Linked DNA regions of Homo sapiens: region 1 is linked to region 2. Evidence: promoter capture Hi-C in human tissues and cell types (Jung and others, 2019). All regions are on one chromosome and are shown on one strand. The core of a region is centred on a gene start or on the middle of the fragment in contact, and the rest is flanking DNA. Distances in the headings are between cores, read along the strand shown.

What was found. The method cuts DNA at HindIII sites, captures the fragments that hold promoters and counts their contacts. A contact is called where the count stands out against the background at its distance.
Region 1: a contact is called between a fragment that was not itself captured here and the fragment with the promoter of PAFAH1B2 in region 2, in 2 of the 25 tissues and cell types used here (dorsolateral prefrontal cortex and hippocampus).

Annotation. Positions count from the first base shown.
Region 1 is chr11:117,033,933-117,040,395 of GRCh38, forward strand. All of the region lies in intron 1 of SIK3 (SIK family kinase 3), which reads right to left. It also overlaps the pseudogene RPS27P19. Among named protein-coding and RNA genes, the nearest start is that of SIK3, 61 kb to the right of the region's middle. The HindIII fragment of the contact is 4,127 bases long and covers 913-5,039 here.
Region 2 is chr11:117,140,506-117,146,886 of GRCh38, forward strand. It overlaps PAFAH1B2 (platelet activating factor acetylhydrolase 1b catalytic subunit 2), which reads left to right and starts at 3,782. Exons shown (of 6, transcript NM_002572.4): 1 at 3,782-3,913. RefSeq lists a silencer at 3,992-4,311 and an enhancer at 4,862-5,041. The HindIII fragment of the contact is 6,098 bases long and covers 1,861-6,381 here.

The sequences.
Region 1 (6,463 bases), core at 1,726-4,225, 110 kb before region 2:
ATGTAATAGCCATTTGTCACTGGAGGTCACCTTTTATGACAAGAAAAATAATCCCACGTTCTTCATATGTTTAATGAAGTTAAGTTTTATAAAACAGATTTATAATCGCTGCCATGTATCATTCTGGGGGAGAAAAAAACAGTAAGCACAAAAAGAAAGCCTAAGATTATGGACAGAAAAAAAATTCAAAGAAAACTTAAATCTAACAACAAAAATACCATAGCACTGTATAAGTTATCACATAGAACATGAAGAACTAGTATACATTCCAGAGGAAAAGCTTGTTAAATCCTACACTGCTAACACTATAACTATATTGAATAAACATACTGCCCCTTAAATATAATTAGCACCATTATTTGAAAACAGAGACAAGAGAAAAGCATCTATAAGACTTGAATGATAAAAGCTGAAATTATGTGAAATCCTTATACTTCAGGCAAGGACATGAATGCTAAAGATCTCAAATTTTCTCAGTGACATGCAAGTAAATGAAAGTAAAGATACGGTTTATTTGTAAAACACGATGCACAATTGAAGGGAGAAATTAAGTATTTAGATCACTTTTTAGCATGCCCTCAAGTAAGTCGGCCAAAACATAATGAGATCAGTACTGGTGGTTAAGAAAAGAGTAACACCAAAAACTTCAGAAAAAGTGGGTCTTATAAAGGCTGTTTCCTAAATGTAGTAATGTATAAGTAATCATGCCATGCTCCACAGACAAGCAAGAGATGTTAAGAAGATGCCAGCACGATTCCAATTATCAATTGTATTAAGGCATGGTCTTTACATTTCAAACTTTACAGAGTTACCTGGAATTATACAGTAAGTTCCAGAATCTCCTCTTTCATTTGTGAATCTGTTCGCTACCCAAAGGCAAGTTCTATTATAAATAGTCAATTAAGATCCAAAAAAACCAAACTTATTTTTTGCTTTTGGTTAACAAGAAATTCCTTTAGCTTAATTGTAACATGGCTACAGCAATCAGTGTACCTTGCTAATATTTTTAATAACTTTGTAACATAAGGTTGTGATGTTACCATGTTTTACAACTGCAAATAATGCAATGATAAAACTGAAAGTTTTGAACTGAACTTTTTTATCTGAGTAATATTTTATTGTATGAATATACCACCATTTATTTATCTCTTGGTTGTTTCCAGTTCTGGGCTATAATCCAAAATGCTTTTTTCAAACAATAGGCTATATATCATTAATGTCCATTTATCAGCAGTATAAAATATCTTACCATAAATATTAATAAAAGAAGCAGTATAAACAAAATCTGTTTATTTTAAAACTGAGTGAATAAAAGGCAGAGATAGGCAATGAGGAAATGAGGAATTTTTTAATGATGCAGATAATATGTTCTAAAATATAATGAAGACCTAAATTAGCTGAGAAATGTGTTCAACAATCACTCCAAACTAAGTATGAATTAATGATTCTATCAATTCATTAATTCTATTAAATCTATTAATGATTCTATTAAACATTAATGATTCTATTTGCAAATTAAAACTTCCTGCTATTCCATTTTAAAGCTTTGGCTATCCCCCATCTGTGATTTTTGTACTGGTTATTTTAACTCAATGTCTGTCAGTTCTTTTCATTTGTAAAATGCAGATAAAAGTAACTACCTACATTATAGGGCTATTGTCACCCAGGCTGGAATGCAGTGATGTGATCATAGCTCACTGTAACCTTGAGCTCCTAGGCTCAAGCGATCCTCCCACCTTAGCCTCCAGAGTAGCTGGGACTACAGGTGCATGCCACCATGCCCGGCTAATTGTTTTAATTTTTTTTTTTAATCCAAAATGTGTTTATTGAGATGGTTTCCCACTCATCTTGATTCAGAGTGCTTTTAGTGCTGCTTCCTCCTGAAGGAACATCCTTCTGTAAGCCTTGCTTTTCCTCCTGTAGGCTGGCAGAGGACAGTGGAGCAGCCAACACACAAAACTACCGTTTGTGCATGGCTAAAGACCGTGATGATTTTATAGCATCCTGGGCATTTCACATCCATGAAGCAGGAATTGGGGCTCTGCACCAGGCGTTTCTTCTTGTGTTTCCTCTTCTCCTTTTCTGGAGAGGGATGAAGGAGACCCTTTGCAAGAGGCATGTTCTCGTGTGGGTAGGTCATCACCGCCGGAAAGGTTAATTTTTTTTTTTTATAGTCAAGGTCTCACTTTGTCACCTAGGCTTGTCTTGCAACTCCTGGCTTCAAGCAATCCTTTCATCTCAGCCTCCCAAAATGTTGGGATTGCAGGTGTGAGCCAATGTGCCCAGCCAAAAATAAAATTTAAAAAAAAATAATGTAGGTAGTTTCTCATAGTAACGTAAAGAATATGTAACCTGTGTTTTCCTGAAAGTTGAGGGAAAGCTGAGGCAGCTAATGGGCTCATACAAAGGTTTGGAAGACCCATTCTGACTACCTAAAGGAGAGTCAGCATTCTGACCATTCTGATTGTGCTTATAGAAGAGTCAGAACTTGTGAAGAAAGAAGCCTTAAAATCCAAGGTAGTAATCATCCTGGGAAATATTTCAGGAAATAACTTAAGGTTTGTATTTTCCCCTAAAATTGTTAGAAGAAAAGAAATGAAGATCTACATATATGCTCTTTTAGAGCTGAGAATAGCTTCTATAAAGCAGAATTTTAGACTTTTCTCCCCAAAGGAAAATAGGCATATTTATTGTAATTATTCTATCACAGTCAACTTGTGTTAACATATCGTTAATTCTTCCAGAACTGCTACATGTCACCAAATCAAAGCCAGTGTGAAAAATATATTAAATGACTCTTCGGCAAAATACGGTTTCCAATGGGGCAATGAAAAACATGAAATAACTCAGATGAAAGTTGGGATAGTATATAAAAATACGCAGATTCTTTTTCAATGTGAAACCTCTGATTCATTAAGAAATAAATCCCTTAAAGGAAAACCAATACCATATGAATCAATCAATTCATTTCTAATGTAAGAATGGGTACAACAAAATTTAAATGTGTTTTATACAGTACTAATTAGTCATGCAAGATCTTAACATTTTGCTTGTTTGCCTGCCCCCATACCTAACTACTATATATCATTTGTTTCTATCTTTAAAATATTTGATCATAGAAATTAAGCCTAAGAATATTGGGGGCTTTTTTCCCCATAAGAAACTACTCAAGGTAAGTATTACTCTAGGAAAATTGTGTTGCCTGGTCTTTATCCAGAATCTTGGTTGTGTCTGCTGCAAAAAAGGGAAAAACTGCTTTTTCAAGGCCATAGCAAACACAGCATGACATGAAAAATCTAAAAGATTCTGAGAGTTAGGAAATCTTCTAAAGGATCCTCTCGCCATTTAAGAGGCAGGAAAACTTCCCAAGGTAAACCAGGGAAAAATCAAGAGTCTCTGTAAAATATATAGCAATATAATAAATTCACAACAGCCCTTGCCTTCAAGCAGCATACATTAACAATAAAAGTCAACTACAAGAGATATCAGAAAGCAAAACAAGACTAATTGCCACATGACTCAGAGACAATTAGGCTATTTCAGTTCAAAGGAGGGAATGATCATCATGAGCCAGAATAGCTGAGAAAGCTTCACTAAGGCTGAGAAGCAACTTAAGCTGTCAGGAATAGGTGTTAGTACTGAGGACGGGGCAGCTCACTCTGGCCCCATGTTTAGACTCCTGTCTTCATTGTCCTGACTCCTGAAGAAGGATATGGCAAAGGATGTGAATCTGACAGCTTTTAACAACATAAGGCAACCAGCTTTGAATTTGCCTCCTGTGTAAGTGGGGTGATTGCCCTAGATAAAGCAACAGTTTCCAAGGCAGAAAAAAAGAGATGATAATCCAGCAGAAGAAGAAAAACACACACACAAAAACCAACAGAACCACCACAAAGCCAAGTGATTCAAACACCTGACCCTGGTTTCCTTGCCAAGAAACAAGTTAATTCCTATGCTAAGCACCTTTCCTCTGTTTTCACATTTCTTCTGTTTTCAAATGCTGAATTCAACAAGAAATCATAAAATCATACCACTTTAGTAGTTCTGAAAAGTTTTATAATGCCTCTTTTTTGTTGTGTACTATGGGGTGGAAAACTCTTTTGTCTTATTCCTGAATCAAGAAAGTAGAAACCTTTGCCAGAATCATTTGCACTAGATAAGTGAATTTGCATATCAGACCATATTTTTAAAAGCAGAAACATCCTGTATAGAGACTCTCCTTATAGAATGACTGACCTGCCTTGGCCTAAGGAAGCCTTCTCCCCCTCTTCCAAGCACAATCTTCCTGTTTTCTCAGCCTCATCTGAACCCGCTCAACCAAACAAAGAACCACTCAAACAAAATTTCACAGAATACCAACTTTAATAATTTCTAGCCAAATCAACACAAACTGTGGCTCTGGCCTAGAATAAACTGCTACAAGATACTTTTTTTTTTTTTTTGAGACAGAGTCTCGCTCTGTCTCCCAGGCTGGAGTGCAGTGGTGCAATCTCGGCTCACCACAGCCTCTGCCTCCCAGGTTCAAGCGATTCTCCTGCCTCAGCCTCCAGAGTAGCTGGGATTACAGGCACCCGCCACCACGCCTGGCTAATTTTTGTATTTTCAGTAGAGACGAGGTTTCACCATGTTGGCCAGGCTGGTATCGAACTCCTGACCTCAGGTGATCCTCCTCGGCCTCTCAAAGTGTTGGGATTACAAGTGTGAGCCACCGCACCTGGCCGCTACAAGATTCTTTATTTGCAATGACTCTCCTCTCCTTTTACCTTTGTTAATAATCACTCATTTCTTCCCCACAGATGCATCAAAGCTAAGATTCTTCGAAATATCCCACATGCGGCCAGGCGCAGTGGCTCATGCCTGTAATCCCAGCACTTTGGGAGGCGGAGGCGGGCATATCATCTGAGGTCAGGAGATCAAGACCATCCTGGCCAAAATGGTGAAACCCCATCTCTACTAAAAATACAAAAATTAGCCAGGCATGGTGGTGTGTGCCTCTAATCCCAGCTACTCGGGAGGCTGAGGCAGGAGAATTGTTTGAACCTGGGAGGCGGAGGCTGCAGGGAGCTGAGATTGTGCCACTGCATTCCAGCCTGGGCGACGGAGTGAGACTCCATCTCAAAAAAAAAAGAAAAAGAAATATCGCACATTCACGGAGCATCTTTAGATCAGAATCACCTCGGCTCTACGTTGAGACTACTGTAATTCTTAGCACAAAGACAGAAAAAGTTGACTCAAGGCTGTCATTTAAAAGAAAAAGCATAATTAATAAACCTTATTTGATAAATAAAAAGATACCTATTGTCTTCATATTACAAACACCGAAAATAAAGCTCAACAATGAAAAAATATATTTTTTTAATTGTGTTTGTTTGTAGAGGTGAGGTCTCGCTATGTTGCCCTGGTCTTGAACTCACTTAAGTGATCCTCCCACTTCAGCCTCCCATAGTGCTGGGATCACAGGCGTAAGCCACCATGCCTGGCAAGAAAATGTTCAGAACAAACCCTACAATTAACTCAGTTCATGACAGACTTGTTACTAATGTATGATGTTTGCAGTGTATAAATGGTGCAATGTACACTACAATTCTCACTGCATATTATAAACAGACATGTTACTATGAAGTTGAGGGAGTGGAAGAAAACAGACTTAATGCTTTAGCTGACTAAAATCGAAAGGTCCACATTCAAAAGACATATTTTTTTAAGAAATTAGGAGTTAATTTTATGTTAAGTAAAACCTATTGTATCATAAGTAACATTTGTTGGGCACTTAATATGTAGTAGGTACTATAGCTAAGTGCTTTACATGATCATCTGATTTAATCCTCACATAGACACTAAAGAAGTAGTTACTATTATTTTACAAAGAAGAAAACTACGGTTTACAACTGTTAAGAAACTTGCCCAAACTGCTAATAAATGAAGAAGCTGAAACTCCCATCCAGGTTTTCCTGACTCCAAAGCCTGGACTCACCACTATTTCTTCAACAAGGATAGCAGCAGGTTCTAGTGTATAAATAAAATAAACACAGTGACTAAACACATTTCCCCACACACTCATCTCTACCACTCCCACAGCCCACCTGAACTCTAGCTAATTGTTCTTAGTCACTGAAAACATTACATGGCTAGATAAATGATAAATGTCAGCTTTGAAAAGGGGAAAAGAAAGTGCCTTATGAGCTTGAGCCACAGATGATGGGCCCTCTTTTTCAAAGCCTTGTCTGCTCATTTGTTCATTCAAATCTCACTGAGCACCTATCATAGCAAGCAGTACTGTATAGTGATAAAGAGCAGAAGAATGCTTAGGTTCAAATCCTGGCGCCATCACTAACTGAGCATGTGACTGAGTAAGTTACTCTACTTCTTCACTACATTAATTATCTAAAGCATTTAGAACTGTGCTCGTCATTTATTATAGTAAACAACAAATGTTAGCTGACATTATTACTCTGTTAATAAT
Region 2 (6,381 bases), core at 2,532-5,031:
CTGGTGTTTTGAAAAGATCAACAAAATTGATAGACCGCTGGCAAGACTAATAAAGAAGAAAAGAGAGAATAATCAAATAGATGCAATAAAAGATGATAAAGGGGATATCACCACCAATCCCACAAAAATACAAACTACCGCCAGAGAATGATATAAACACCTCTACGCAAATAAACTAGAAAATCTAGAAGAAATGGATAAATTCCTGGACACATACACCTTCCCAAGACTAAACCAGGAAGAAGTTGAATCTCTGAATAGACCAATAACAGGCTCTGAAATTGAGACAATAATTAATAGCCTACCAACCAAAAAAAAATCCAGGACCAGACAGATTCACAGCCGAATTCTATTAGAGCTACAAAGAGGAGCTGGTACCATTCCTTCTGAAACTATTCCAATCAATAGAAAAAAAGAGACTCCCTAACTCATTTTATGAGGCCAGCATCATCCTGATACTAATGCCCGGCAGAGACATAACAAAAAAGAGAATTTTAGGCCAATACGCCTGATGAACATTGATGTGAAAATTCTCAATAAAATACTGGCAAACCGAATCCAGTGGCACATCAAAAAGCTTATCCACCACAATCAAGTTGGGTTCATCCCTGGGATGCAAGGCTGGTTCAACATACACAAATTGATAAACGTAATCCATCACATAAACAAAACCAATGACAAAAACCACATGATTATATCAATGCAGAAAAGGCCTTCGACAAAATTCAGCAGCCCTTCATGCTAAAAGCTCGCAATAAACTAGGTATTGATGGAACGTATCTCAAAATAGTAAGAGCTATTTATGACAAACCCACAGCCAATATCATACTGAATGGGCAAAAACGGGAAGCATTCCCTTTGAAAACCAGCACAAGACAAGGATGCCCTCTCTCACCACTCCTATTCAACATAGTGTTGGAGGTTCTGGCCAGGGCAATCAGGCAAGAGAAAGAAATAAAGGGTATTCAATTAGGAAAAGAGGAAGTCAAATTTTCCCTGTTTGCAGATGACATGATTGTATATTTAGAAAACCCCATTGTCTCAGCCCAAGATCTCCTTAAGCTGATAAGCAACTTCAGCAAAGTCTCAGGATACAAAATCAATGTGCAAAAATCACAAGCACTCCTATACACCAATAACAGACAATAACAGAGAGCCAAATCATGAGTGAACTCCCATTCACAATTGCTACAAAGAGAATAAAATACCTAGGAATCCAACTTACAAGGGATGTGAAGGACCTCGTCAAGGAGAACTACAAACCACTGCTCAGTGAAATAAAAGAGGACACAAACAAATGGAAGAACATTCCATGCTCATGGATAGGAAGAATCAGTATTGTGAAAATGGCCATACTGCCCAAGGTAATTTATAGATTCAATGCCATCCCCATCAAGCTACCAAAGACTTTCTTCACAGAATTGGAAAAAACTACTTTAAACTTCATATGGAACCAAAAAAGAGCCCGCATTGCCAAGACAATCCTAAGCAAAAAGAACAAAGCTGGAGGCACCACGCTACCTGACTTCAAACTATACTACAAGGCTACAGTAACCAAAACGGCATGGTACTAGCACCAAAACAGATATATAGACCAACAGAACAGAACAGAGGCCTCAGAAATAACACCACACATCTACAACCATCTGCTCTTTGACAAATTGACAAAAACAAGAAATGGGGAAAGGATTCCCTATTTAATAAATGGTGCCAGGAAAACTGGCTAGCCATATGTAGAAAGCTGAAACTGGATCCCTTCCTTACACCTTATACAAAAATTAATTCAAGATGGAGTAAAGACTTAAATGTTAGACCTAAAACCATAAAAACCCTAGAAGAAAACATAGGCAATACCATTCAGGACATAGGCATGGGCAAAGACTTCCTGACTAAAACACCACAAGCAATGGCAACAAAAGCCAGAATAGACAAATGGGATATAATTAAACTAAAGAGCTTCTGCATGGCAAAAGAAACTACCATCAGAGCGAACAGGCAACCTACAGAATGGGAGAAAATTTTTGCAATCTACCCATCTGACAAAGGGCTAATATCCAGAATCTACAAAGAACTTAAACAAATTTACAAGAAAAAAAACAAACAACCCCATCAAAAAGTGGGCAAAGGATATGAACAGACACTTCTCAAAAGAAGACATTTATGCAACCAACAGACACATGAAAAAATGCTCATCATCACTGGTCATCAGAGAAATGCAAATCAAAACCACAATGAGATACCATCTCATGCCAGTTAGAATGGCGATCATTAAAAAGTCAGGAAACAACAGATGCTGGAGAGGATGTGGAGAAAGAGGAACACTTTTACACTGTTGGAGGGAGTGTAAATTAATTCAACCATTGTGAAAGACAGTGTGGCGATTCCTCAAGGATCTAGAACTAGAAATACCATTTGACCCAGCCATCCCATTACTGGGTATATACCCAAAGGATTATAAATCATGCTGCTATAAAGATACATGCACACGTATGTTTATTGTGGCACTATTCACAATAGCAAAGACTTGGAACCAACCCAAATGTCCATCAATGATAGACTGGATTAAGAAAATGTGGCACATATACACCACGAAATACTATGCAGCTGTAAAAAGGATGAGTTCATATCCTTTGCAGGGACATGGACGAAACTGGAAACCATCATTCTCAGCAAACTATCACAAGGACAGAAAACCAAACACCGCATGTTCTCATAGGTGGGAATTGAACACTGAGAACACTTGGACAAAGGGCGGGGAACATCACACACGGGGGCCTGTCGGGGACTGCGGGGCTGGGGGAGGGATAGCATTAGGAGAAATACGGAATGTAAATGACGAGTTGATGGGTGCAGCAAACCAACATGGCACACGTATACCTATGTAACAAACCTGCACGTTGTGCACATGTACCCTAGAACTTGAATAAAAAAAAAAAAAAAAAAGAAAAATTACTTGACATATCTTGACATTTTAGGCTCCCAGGATTTTACAGTATTCTTAACAGGTTTTGTCAGCAAAATCAACCCCCACCCCCGCATCAGTTTAAGAGCCCTGGAAGGCTCTGCCTATTCACCAGCATAGAGCTGAGATCCTTAAAGGGCCAGTTCAGGGCACTGCTCCAGCAACCGTTGCGCTGCTATAAGCTTGAGCACATCTCTTGCCCCTCCTCTCTACTTTTATAGATCCTGCATTTATTTAGCATATAATCTTTTCAATATTGACTTTGTATATGTATGTCTTCCCCTAAACTGGATGTATCTTTTAAGGAAAAGCCTGGGGTTCGTCATCCCCCTATGTATCACCTTTACAGGCGGTCACCCAAAATCTCCACATTCATCATAGAAACAGAAATTCCACTAATAAATGTCAGGTACTGCCTCCTTAACCTTGGTCCGCTATTTCCCTCCCACTTTCAGCAGTCTGGTTTATTCCATGGGTGGAAGAGGAAGCCAAGTTGGCTGAGTGTGAAGGGAATGGCGTCAGTGTGACTTCACGCCACATCGTCCCGAATGCCAGCTCCACACTGCGGTGGCACGAACGCAGGATTGAGAGATGCAGCTGGAGTAAAGAGAGAAGCCCATGTCCCTCAGACGCCACACAAAATGGGGGTAACCGCGAGAACAAAGCAGGGTACCCAACGGGGTGTGGCGGGACACCTGGGCGCACGCCGCCAGCGCCCGGGAGAGCGAAGGCGGGGAGAGAGGAACCACGCTGAGGCGTGGCAGGATGGGGGCGGGACTTCCGGAAGCCATTTGGCTGAGTGGCAGGGGAACCGGAAGTGGAGGAGCTGCTGCTGGTGCTGGGGCCGGAGGAGGGACGCGCCGGAGCGGGACCGACGGGACCGAGCGAGCGACCGACGCGCCACCCGCCGACGCCTCAGCCGCTTGGGGCCCGCACGGACCCTCTACTTCAGTGAGTGCATCCAGGGTCGCAGGGAACCGGTGGCTTAGAGGCGGGGGTCGGAAGGGGCTGCGAGGTGTTATTGTGAGAGGCCCGCGACCTCCCCTCCCCCACCCTTGCGGCCCCTCCCCCCACGCCGCCCCATCCACTTGGGGGGGGCCTCGCGAGCGCGCGCCTTCTCTGCGGGCCCAGCGTCGGCTTCCCAGCAGCCGGCGCAGCTAGTTTTCGCTCTGAGAGCCCTTTCCCGATATTCCATACCGAAAGCTGGCGTTTCTCCTCAGCCGCCGGCCGGCGCCTCCACGGCCTTTCCCAGGAGGGTAGCGCGGCGGGCGCCCCGCCCCGCCCTGCCCTGCCCTGCCCTGCCGGGCCCACCCGCGGTAGGCCTTGCGCACCCCAGCTCGCCCCGGCTGGGCGCTGCAGCTCCTGCCCGGGTCTCCGCTGCTGCCTTTTCCCTTTATCACAGGGGTCTAACTTCTCACTCTTCTCTCCCCTCGCGTCTGGTCGGAGGCCAAAACCAGTTACTCCGTTGTGTTTTTACCGAGCACTTTTCCCTCCTCCTTTTGTTGAAAAATTTCAACTCTTTAGAAACTTCTCCGTTGCCTCTTAGGATGTGTTTATTCAAAAGTTGCATAGACCGTCACCACTCGGAAGGGATTATTTCTTGGAAGGCTTTCCAGCCCCCATCTCATCTTAGACATGAATGTGCTCGGAGCGGCTGGTGACCTGCCCAAGGTCAGCCAGCTAGATAAACCTGTCAGCGGAGAGGTTTGGGGGGATGTTTTTTTCCTGGCTCACCGTCCGTTTGCCAGATCCGTGCCTTCTGGTCTACAGGTTTGATTGACCCGTTGCGTGGTGACTCATGCTTCTGCTTTTCATAGCTCGCAGGCCAGCGTTGCTTTTCAGAATTTATACACAAACAAGAACTAACACTCGGAGCTTTCGCCTCTTTGTAGAGCTTACCCGTAGAGAAAGGAAAGACCACCCGGATCCACCCTAGGACCTCATTTTGTACAGCTTGAAATTATGGGAAGGGGTTGGGCCGGGGGTAAAGGTGTGGAGAAAGTGGAAGGAGAAAGTGCTTAATTAAGATTGTCTTTGCCTTGGATGTGCCTTGTGTCTTTGGCTTCTTCTGGGCACATTGTTCTGACATAAAGGTTGCCTCCTTGTGGGGGAGAAGGGGAGGATTAGTTTGTTGGCTTGGGCATTTGATCATAAATTATGGAGGTGCTGGACCGGAGGAACCACCCACCAGCCCACGGAGGCTACCGGGCATTCAGGATAAGGGCCGCCTTCTTCTTCAGAATAACCATACCCACTCCCTCTGAAACAAAGTGGAGAGTCTTAGGTCTGAGTGGAAACTCTAAATCTTTTAATTCTTGGTTCAACTTTCTTCATCTGTTTTCCTGGTTCAGACTAAAACATCTAACTCAGCTGGAGAAGTTATAACGCTTTGTTGTTGGACGTGGTTTCTCATTAAATACATTGCACTATGCTGGTATAAGCACTTGGAAATTCTAGTGCTGTATTGTCATAGTAAGTAGAGAATATAGAAAAGGCAGGAAAATCGTGCAAGTCGGTTACTCCTCGTCTTCCCAGAGAACTCACTTTAATGGACAACAAAGCTTCCCCTGGAGTACAGTCTGTTGTGGCAAATTAACAAAACTTGTTCTTCAGACCTTTTATTTGCATTCTGCTTGGTCTTTCTTTCTTTTTTTTTTTTTTTTTTTGTGTGTGTGACGGAGTCTCAGTCTGTCGCCCAGGCTGGAGTGCAGTGGCGCGATCTCTACTCACTACAACCTCTGCCTCCCGGTTCAAGCTTATAGGCATGTGCCACCACACCCAGCTAATTTTGTATTTTTTTTTTTTAGTAGAGACGGGGTTTCGCCACGTTGGCCAGGCAGGTCTTGAACTCCCGACCTCAAGTGATCCACCCGCCTCGGCCTCCCAAAGTGCTGGGATAACAGGCGCAGGAAACCCAAAGTCACTCAGAAGTTTGCGTCTTACCACTGGGTAGCTCTTAGTTCGTTCTTATTTTATGTGTCCATAAGAGCAGATAATTCTTCGTTTCAATTGGAAAGAATACAACAGCTGGAGCCTGAGCAACATGGCAAGACCTCGTCTCTACGAAATTTAAAAATTAGCCATGTGTGGTGGCGTGGGCCTGCAGTACCAGTTACTCTGGAAGGAAGAAATGGGAGGATCACTTGAGCCCAGGAGATCAAGGCTGCAGTGAGCTGTGTTACGCCACTTCACTCCAGCTAACGACTGACTGAGACCCTGTCGGGGTAAAAAACAAAAAACAAAACACAGCCGGCTGGGTGCTGTGACTCATTCCTGTAATTCCAGCACTTTGGGAGGCCAAGGCAGCAGGATCACTTGAGCCTAGGAGTTCAAGATCAGCCTGAACAATATGGTGAGATCCCCATCTATTGGAAAAAAAAAAAAAAAAGGTCAGGCAGCTATTCGGGAGGATCGCTTGA